3 separate regions of the Homo sapiens genome follow, and regions 2 and 3 are each linked to region 1. Evidence: promoter capture Hi-C in human tissues and cell types (Jung and others, 2019). All regions are on one chromosome and are shown on one strand. Each heading gives the region's core, a stretch centred on a gene start or on the middle of the fragment in contact. The rest is flanking DNA. Distances are from core to core; before and after follow the strand shown. Region 1 holds the start of C19orf25 (chromosome 19 open reading frame 25). Region 2 holds the start of EFNA2 (ephrin A2). Region 3 has its middle 20 kb from the start of ONECUT3.

Region 1 (2,938 bases), core at 192-2,691:
GCCAGGGGCAGGGTTTGGGGGGCCCTAGCTTACCACCTCTGTTTTACTTTATTTATTTCTATTTATTAATTATTATTATAATTATTGAAACAGAGTCTCACTGTGGTCCAGGCTGGAGTGCAGTTGCGTGATCTCAGCTCACTGCAACCTCCGACTCCCAGGTTCAAGTGATTCTCCTGCCTCAGTCTCCTGAGTGGCTGGGATTACAGGCCCATGCCACCACACCCGGCTAATTTTTGTATTTTTAGTAGAGACAAGGTTCCACCATGTTGGCCAGGCTGGTGTCCAACCTCTGACCTCAAGTGATCCACCCACCTCGGCCTCCCAAAGTGCTGGGATTATAGGCGTGAGCCACCGCACCGGCCACTTATTTATTTTTGAGACACAGTCTGGCTGTGTTGCCTAGGCTGTATCCTCCCACTTTAGCCTCCAAGAAGCTGGGGCTACAAGTGTCCACCACCACACCCAGTAATTTTTTTTTTTTTTTGAGACAGTCTCGCACTGTCACCTGGGCTGGAGTGCAGTGGTGCGATCTCGGCTCACTGCAAACTCTGCATCCCGGGTTCAAGCGATTCTCCTGCCTCAGCCTCCCGAGTAGCTGAGATTACAGGCGCCTGCCACTATGCCCAGCTAACTCTGTTTTGTTTTTGTTTTTGTTTTTGTTTTGTTTTTTCATTTTTAGCAGAGACGGGGTTTCACCATGTTGGCCAGGCTGGTCTCGAACTCCTGGGCTCAAGCGATCCTCCCGCCTCATCCTCCGAAAGTGCTGGGCTTACAGGCCTGAACCACAGCGCCCGGCCTCCACCCCTGTCAGAAGAACCCTCTGAAAATCGGTCCCACTCTACGGAGGAGTAGAGGGAGACTCGGAGAGGATACGGACCGTGCCCATGTTGCGGGGGTTCCCAGGGCGTGGGGTCAGGAGTTAGGGGTGTGCTTCTCTCCCGTCCCCTTGCTGCCGGGGTCTCAGGTCCGCTTTTCCCCGGGACCGGGCTCCCCCTACCTTCCGGGGCCAGGATGGTGAACACTGGATCCTCTGCCGGCGCACCCCGCACATCCTCCAGGATCTGCTCCACCGTGGGGGGCGCTGGGCGGGTGGGCAGCAGCACGCGCTTCTTTGCCTTGGAGCCCATCTCTGAAGGCGGGGAAGGGGGCGCTGACCGGGGCGTCCACCTCTCCGCCCTTGCCCGGGCTGCTCCTCCCGCCCAGCGAACTCGTACGCACCCGTCGCGGTCCCGCTCCCGGGGAAGCCCGCCCTGTCCCGCCCCTCTGAGCTCGCCCCAGGCCCTGACCCTCCCTCCGCCCAAAAACACGGTGGCCAAGGCTTCAGGGTCTGGCTCAACCTCTGCCTCAGTTTCCCCGCGGTCACCCCAGTCGCCGGCCTCTTCCCACCTGGGCGCGGGACCCGAAAGCCCAGCGTCGACGACGCAGCCACTTCCGATTCCGGTCGGAGCACCGCCCCGTCCCCGAACACGTGACACACACTTCCGGCCTCCTCTCCCGCCGGCCCGCCGCTCATCGCGGGGCTCCGCCCCGTCTTAAAGGGATAGTGCCCTTGAGACTCGGATCTCAGCCTCTCAGGCGAACCCGAACCTGGACGCGCTACGATGAGAGCGAGTTCGAGTCCAGGCTCCACTGGCTGGGTAGAAAAGCATCCGAGGCTCGTCTTTCTGAAAAGGGGAACACGGCACTAGGGGACACGCCACCCATGTGGCTGACGGGAGCACAAAATTGCTGTCCACCTAAGGGAGCCTGGTGGTGCATGAGCACTCGGCGGCCGGAACACAGCGGGGGCGGGGCGGTCGCGGCGCCTCCACTTCCGGCCAAGGCGGGTCCTCCCACCTCGGGGACGGTGCTGGAGGTCACCTTTTCCTCTCCGCTGATGCCTGGGAAGGCAGAAAGAGCAGAGGGCCCTTTTCCTCTCTCAGGGGCTTTATTGAGATGCAGTTTACATACCATAAAGTTCTCCTGTTTATTTCGTTTTGTTTTGTTTTTTTAGAGACAGAGTCTCACTGTGTCGCCCAGGCCGGAGTGCAGTGGCGTGATCTCAGCTCACTGCAACCTCCGCCTCCCGAGTTCAAGCAATTCTCCTGCCTCAGCCTCCCGAGTAGCTGGGACTACAGGCGCCCGCCACCACGTCCGTCAAAATTTTTTTTTGTATTTTAGTAGAGATGGGGCTTCACTGTGTTGCCCAGGCTGGTGTCAAACTCCTGAGCTCAGGCAATCCGCCCGCCTCAGCCTCCCAAAGTGCTGGGATTACGGGCGTGAGCCACCGCGCCCGGCCAAATTCGCCTGTTTAAACTGTAAATTCAGCCTGGGCGCGGTGGCTCATGCCTGTAATCCCAGCACTTTGGGAGGCCGAGGCGGGCAGATCACTTGAGGCCAGTTTGAGACCAGCCTGGCCAACATGGTGAGACCCCGTCTCTACTAAAAATACAAAAATTAGGCTGGGTGTGTTGGCTCACGCCTGTAATCCCAGCGCTTTGGGAGGCCGAGGTGGGTGGATCACGAGGTCAGGAGATCAAGACCATCCTGGCTAACATGGTGAAACCCTGTCTCTACTAAAAATACAAAAAGAAAAACAAAATTAACCAGGCATGGTGGCGGTTGCCTGTAGTCCCAGCTACTCAGGAGGCTGGGGCAGGAGAATGGCATGAACCCGAGAGGCAGAGCTTGCAGTGAGCCGAGATCGTGCCACTGCACTCCAGCCTGGGCGACAGAGCAAGACTCTGTCTCAAAAAAAAAAATATTGTTGAGAGAGAAGGAAGGAAGGAAGGGACAGAGAGAGGGAAAAGGAAAGAAAGAGAAAGAAAGGAAAGAAGGAAGGAGAAGAAAAAGGAAGGAAGGAGAGAGAGAAAGAAAAAAAAGAAAAAGGAAATAAAGAGAAGAAAGTAAAGAAGAAAAGGGAGAAAAGAAAGGAAAGGAAGGAAAGAGAAGGAAG
Region 2 (3,280 bases), core at 34-2,533, 190 kb before region 1:
AATCGGGGGAGGAGGGCACGCAGGAGACACAGGACAGAGCCCACCACGTCTCAGAGCTGTGGGACGGTGGTGGGTCCGGTCCCCACCCCACCTTGCTGGGGCACAGGTTAGCTTGCCCATCTCTGGGTTCACGGTCCCTGCCAGGAGTTTGGGTAATGCCTCACACAGGGACCTTCGGGTCCAAGGGCTGTTGGTGCTTGCCCTGCAGTTCCCTCTCCTGCACTGGGCCTGGTGAATGACACTAATTCAGAGACGTACAACACGATCTGGGCATCGCCAGCAAAGTCCAGCCAGCGTTTGATGACAGCCTACCCTCCACAAGCTCAGAGTCTGGTGAGGGAGGCTGTGGCATGAATAAGGGCAAAAACAGAGGGCAGGCCAGGTGCAGTGGCTCACGCCTGTAATCCTAGCACTTTGGGAAGCCCAGGTGGGAAGATCGCCTGAGCCCAGGAGTTCAAGACCAGCGTGGCCAACATGGCCAGACACTGTCTCTATAGATTGGAAAAAAGACAAAGCAGAGGCCAGGCCCCCAGTTCCCCACCTGTGTCAGCCTACCAGGAGGAGAAATCACTCGGCGTTCCCTGAACAGATCAGACCCCGGGTCTTTGCACAAGCTGTGCCCCCGGGCAGCGGCCCTCCCCTGCCTGCAGGATTCGTGCGTGGAGACTGATTTGCTGTCGGCCGGGGCTTCACTCTGGGCTTCTTGGATCCCATCCCCAGCTGCTCACACTCCACATCGGTCCACCTACTATGCTCCCGGCACCCTTAGGGCTGAGGTGTAGGGACTTACTCCATCCCCAGGGAACAGCGTGGGTCCGGAGAGGCGACTCCCAGGAGGGCCCCAGGGAGGTCGCAGCCCGAGCAGCTTTGGACTTTGGCCAGCGCCCCTCTGAAACTCTGCCCCGGCCCCCGCAGGGAGACTGGAGTTGGCCGAGCCCGATTTGGGACGCGTGCGTCGGGGTTGGTGAGGCTGCGGATAGCGCTGGAACCGGGCAGGTGAGAGGCCCGGGACCCAGGGCCGGGCCGGGTGGAGCGCGTGGGGGCGCGGGAGGCAGGGTGCGCCCCCGCCCCTCGGAGACCCCAGGCCGGGCCACGCGGATGCCGGCGGGGGGCGCGCAGAATCGGGGTCGCTGGGGGCAGGCCCCGGGGGACGAGCCTGAGACGGGGTGGGCCGGGGCAGGGGGCGGGCGCAGGCTGGAGACCCCCGCCCAGTCCCCGCGCGGCCGGGGCACGGCGGGAGGGGGCGCCCGCGGCCCTCCCGACGCTCGGGCGGGACAAAGGCCGGAGCCCGGGCCCCTCCCCGGCGGGTGCGGCGGCGGCGGCCCGCGCTCCGACAGTCCGCGCGGCCGGGTCCTGCGCCCGGGGCGACCCCGGCGCCCCGCCCCGCCGCCGCCTGACTTCTCGGCGCCCGAGGTCGCGCGCGCGGAGGCGGGGGCGGCCCGGGATCTCCAAGCGCCGCCGCGCCCTCCTCCCGCCCGCCCTCCGCCCGCCCGCTCGGCGGCGGCGGCGGCGGCGGAGGAGGCGGAGAAGGCTGGCAGGCGGCGGCCGGGAGAGCGAGCGCGGCGGCCGGACCGGGGCCATGGCGCCCGCGCAGCGCCCGCTGCTCCCGCTGCTGCTCCTGCTGTTACCGCTGCCGCCGCCGCCCTTCGCGCGCGCCGAGGACGCCGCCCGCGCCAACTCGGACCGCTACGCCGTCTACTGGAACCGCAGCAACCCCAGGTGAGCGCGGCCGCGCGCGGGGGGCGCCCGGGGACCCCCCAACGCCCCCCAAGCCGCGCCCGGCCTCGCGCCCCCGGAGCTCCGGGCGCCCCCCACGCGCGCGCCGCCGCCGGGATGCGGGCGCCCGGTTCCCGCGGGAGCCCCCCAGGGAGCTCCGGCCCCCCGGAGTTTGGGGGACTCGCCCTTTTCGCGCCTGCCTTCCCCGGGGCGCCCCATTGCCCTACGGACTGTGGGGACTCGCGCCCCACATCCCCCAGAGCGCCGACGTCTCCTGGAGTTTGGGGAACCCCTCTGGTACCCTCCGATGCCGGGTAGCCCCTGAGTTGCCTGCCTGGACTTGGGGGGACCCCTGATCCACCCGCTTCTCTGGGGAGCCCCCTCGGTTTCGCATTTGGTGGGGATCCCCGGGGACCTTGGCACCGGAGGTGGGGGACTGTGGCCCTCGAGGGATCTCTGGGTTCGTCCTGCCCGCAGGTCCCCAGATGAACTTGGGGAAGTTGGAGTGTCCCTCCCTCAGGACCCAGCATCTGCTTCACTCCAGGGGGCCAAGGGCCCAGCTTTGAAAGGAGACTGAGGGGCCGGGGAGCTGGGGGTCAGCCCCGGGAGGGGCAGTGGGATGGAGTCCTCTCTTGTCCTCTGGGCGCTGACCAGGAAACTGAGGTGCAGAGGGGATGAGGAGCTGGCTCAAGGTCATGCAAGGGGGGGACTTGGGGGCAGGACCCAGGTGGCCCAGTGCCCTGCCTGCCACGCCCGGCCGAGATGCCGCACCCGCCTGCTGCAGGCCCCCTTGTTTTGAACCAGGTCCGGGCCAGGCACAACGTGGGGGACAGGAGAAGCCCCCGTTGGTCAGAGCAAAAAAAGTTTGCCGGGGCCTGGCCATGGCCTGGACGTGGGTAGAACCCTCTGAACCATCCCAGGGTCTCCAAGACAGGAGCAGGCTGCAGCTTCCCTGGGGGTCCCGTGGGAGCCGGGGCTTTGGGGGTCCTGGGGCTCGGGAGGGAGTCAGCCCCAGCACTCAGGGTGTCACCGTCTTCCTAAGGCACACGGAGCTGCACATCGGGGGCTGAGGCGGCCCCCCCCCACTCTTCTGCTACTGGTCACTTTCTCTCCGTTTTCCAGCCGCTTCCTGTGCCGACCGAGCCGCCCTCTGGAGCCCGCCACCCCTCCTTGTCCCCTCTGTCTCCTGCTGTCCTCGGTCCCCGGGAGGAAAGTTGCATGAAGGGGTCTCTTTGAGGCGGGCTCGGGGACAAGGGCGGCCCGTGTTCCGCCGTGGGGGTGGGGAACACGCACAGGCCCACCCCCCACCCTGGTCAACGGCCTCGGGTCGGGCCCTGGGGGCTGAGGGCAGGGACCCCGGGCCGCTGGGGGACGGCTGGCCCACCTCAGAGCGGGTCCCCGAGCCGCCCGCTGTGCTGGTCACATGTGGGTTTGATTAAGGCTGTCGCTGGCCGTGCGGGGAGTCCAGCGGGCAGCGCTTCCCCGGCCCAAGTTTTTGGTTTCAGCTGCGGAATCTCCCGTCCCCAGCGTGGCCTGTCCTTTGTTCTAGCAAACGCCAAACACA
Region 3 (2,948 bases), core at 161-2,660, 250 kb after region 1:
CAGCCTGGCCAACAAGGTGAAAGCCCGTCTCTACTAAAAATATAAAAATTAGCCGGGCGTGGTGGCGGGCGCCTGTAATCCCAGCTACTCGGGAGTCTGAGGCAGGAGAATCGCTTGAACCCCAGAGGCGGAGGTTGCAGTGAGCCGAGATTGCACCACTGCACTCCAGCCTGGGTGACAGAGGGACATTTGTCTTTAAAAAAAAACAAAAAAAAAAGCTACATGCTGAACAGTGAGTAGAGACTGGTCACATTAAGTCAGAGTATGTCTCTAAGTATATACAGATACTTTTTTTTTTTTTTCCCCTTGAGACAGAGTCTTGCTCTGTCACCCAGGCTGGAGTGCAGTGGCGCGATCTCGGCTCACTGTAACCTCCGCCTTCTGGGTTCAAGCGATTCTCCTGTCTCAGCCTCCCGAGTAGCTGGGATTACAGGTGTCCACCACCACGCCCGGCTAATTTTTGTATTTTTAGTAGAGATGGGGTTTCACCGTGTTGGCGAGGCTGGTCTTGAACTCCTGACCTCAGATGATCCACCTGCCAGGCCCTCCCAAAGTGCAAGGATTACAGGCGTGAGCCACCGTGCCCGGCCACGGATACTCTTCATGGTGTGTATCATGAGGCCCTAGGACAGATAATGAAGGCTTCCACGTCCAAGGGCACAGGGTGGCACGGGAAGGGTTGAGGTGGGCATTTATTTTTTTGCTGTTTCCATGTAAGTTTTGTTTCTCCCACGTATATATGTATATTACTTGCTCAAAAACAGATTGCAAATGTGACAAAAATTACAGATACCTATTTTGTAGTTCAGCTTTTCTGAGGTTCGCAGGACAGGGGACGCCCCTCCCACAGCCCAGCTCCTCTGCAGATGGCTCTGATCTGACTTCCCCAGGGACCCAGGGCTTTTCTCCCGTGATCCCTGCTCCTGGCCTCCAGTTCCCGAAACTCACCAGCTCTGAGCAGGTAGGAAAAAGTGGCTTGTGTCTACAGAGCCCAGTTCTTCTATAAAGTGAAAACAGGCAGCATCGACAAGCATAACCGCCGGGCACGGTGGCTCACGCCTGTAATCCCAGCACTTTGGGAGGCCGAGGTGGGTGGATCACCTAAGATCAGGAGTTCGAGACCAGCCTGACCAACATGGAGAAACCCCGTCTCTACTAAAAATACAAAATTAGCCAGGCATGCTGGCTCATGCCTGTAATCTCAGCTACTCAGGAGGCTGAGGCAGGAGAATCGCTTGAACCTGGGAGGCGGAGGTTGCTGTGAGCTGAGATCGTGTCATTTGCACTCCAGCCTGGGTAACAACAGTGAAACTCCGTCTCAAAAAAAAAAAAAAATCCACTCCAGGCTGGACATGGTGGAGGGCACCTGTAGTCCCAGCTACTCGGGAGGCCGAGGCAGGAGGATCTCTTGAACCCAGGAGGTCGAGGCTGCAGTGAGCCAATTCTCCTGTCTCAGCCTCCCTAGTAGCTGGGATTACAGGTGCCCTCCACCACTACACTCCACCCTGGACAACAGAGTGAGACCCTGCCTCAAAAAACAAAAAAAACAAAACAAATAAAAAAACAATGCAGTCCTACCCCTTGCCTGGCTGCCCCTGACTCTTAAGGGAATGATGACACCTCCCCGCCAGGCCCACAGACGCTGCCGACCCAGCCCCTCCTCACCTCAATGCTCTCCTAACCCCCAAGCCTTTGCCTGCTTTTCCTACTTCTCTTCACTGAATGAACTCCTGCACCTCCTACGCCTTTCGGGGCAACGGTGCCCTTCTCAACTCAGGCTCCCAGACCCGCTGTCAGCCATGGTTTAAAGTCTGCCACTGGCCGGGCACAGTGGCTCATGCCTGTAATCCCAGCACTTTGGGAGGTCAAGGTGGAGGACCACTTGAGGCCAGGAGTTCAAGACCAGCCCGGGCAATATAAAATTCGCTGAGCATGGCGGTGCAAGCCTGTAGTCCCAGCTACTCAGGAGCTGAGTGGGGAGGATGGCTTGAGCCCAGGAGTTCGAGGCTGCAGTAAGCTATGATTGCACCACTGCACTCCAGCCTGGGTAACAGAGCAAGACCCTGTCTCTAAAAAAATAAAGTCAGCCACCACCCTCACACTGTGAGCCTCTCCCATCACCACAGGGCCTTCCATGGCCAGCTCCAGGCCTGGCATCAGCGGGTGCAGGAAAAGCTCAGTGGAGCGATTCCACATCTAGGGCTCGGCTTGTAAAATTAAAATAAGTGGAGACCCCCCCACAACCCCCAGCCACACGCAGGCAGTAGGAACCCGGGAGATGGGACGAGCGCCGAAGGGTTATTAGCAGATGCCTCGAGCCCCCTCGAGCCCCGCAGAGTGGGGGAGGATGGCGGAGGCCCTTTTAAGGACCCAGTATCACCGTCCTTTCTCGGCCAGCCGGGCACCCACCCACCTGAGTGAGCCTGGAGCAGCCCATTAAGCGATTTTTTTCCTCCACTTACGGTTGGCAGCATCGACAAGCATGCTCGATATCTGACGAGGTGCTGGCCTTGGAAGAGAGCGAGCCGCCTCGATAAACTATTCCCTCTTGTCAGCGCCTCCTCCCGCACCCAGCCCGGAGCTTCGCGTTTGATCCCCTCCCCTAATGAGCTCGGTTTTCTCCCCTCCAGGCGGATGAGACGCTCCCCCCACCCTCGCCCGCTCAGCCTTTCAAGTTCAGCTGGGCTGAGATTCAAGGTGGGGGCGGCGGTGGTGGAAGGAAAACCATTTCCAGGTTCCGATGGGGTCACCTCCCCCAGGAAGTCCTCCCAGAATTTCTGCAGCTCAGATGGTCTCGTGCATTTGTGGGGAGGGTCTGGGGTACAGAAAGAGACTGGGACCTAGATATGGGGGGTCGTACAGCAGTGTCCAGGTGCCACGATTGTCATCTGTCCATTCATTCAACAAAGGGTTTGGGGGTGCAGAGCTGGGCACAGGTGCTCCCAGCT

What was found. The method cuts DNA at HindIII sites, captures the fragments that hold promoters and counts their contacts. A contact is called where the count stands out against the background at its distance.
Region 2: the fragment with the promoter of EFNA2 here is called in contact with the fragment with the promoter of C19orf25 in region 1 in 9 of the 25 tissues and cell types used here (IMR-90 fibroblasts, dorsolateral prefrontal cortex, heart left ventricle and 6 more).
Region 3: a contact is called between a fragment that was not itself captured here and the fragment with the promoter of C19orf25 in region 1, in 4 of the 25 tissues and cell types used here (IMR-90 fibroblasts, dorsolateral prefrontal cortex, lymphoblastoid cells and 1 more).

The regions. Positions count from the first base shown.
Region 1 is chr19:1,477,774-1,480,711 of GRCh38, forward strand. It overlaps C19orf25 (chromosome 19 open reading frame 25), which reads right to left and starts at 1,442. Exons shown (of 3, transcript NM_152482.3): 1 at 1,390-1,442; 2 at 1,001-1,132. The coding sequence starts at 1,130. RefSeq lists enhancers at 627-1,127, 1,489-1,608 and a silencer at 1,219-1,268. The HindIII fragment of the contact is 27,509 bases long and covers 1-2,938 here.
Region 2 is chr19:1,284,590-1,287,869 of GRCh38, forward strand. It overlaps EFNA2 (ephrin A2), which reads left to right and starts at 1,284. Exons shown (of 4, transcript NM_001405.4): 1 at 1,284-1,719. The coding sequence starts at 1,580. RefSeq lists enhancers at 368-868, 869-1,369. The HindIII fragment of the contact is 32,397 bases long and covers 1-3,280 here.
Region 3 is chr19:1,731,968-1,734,915 of GRCh38, forward strand. No RefSeq gene overlaps it. Among named protein-coding and RNA genes, the nearest start is that of ONECUT3, 20 kb to the right of the region's middle. The HindIII fragment of the contact is 7,385 bases long and covers 1-2,948 here.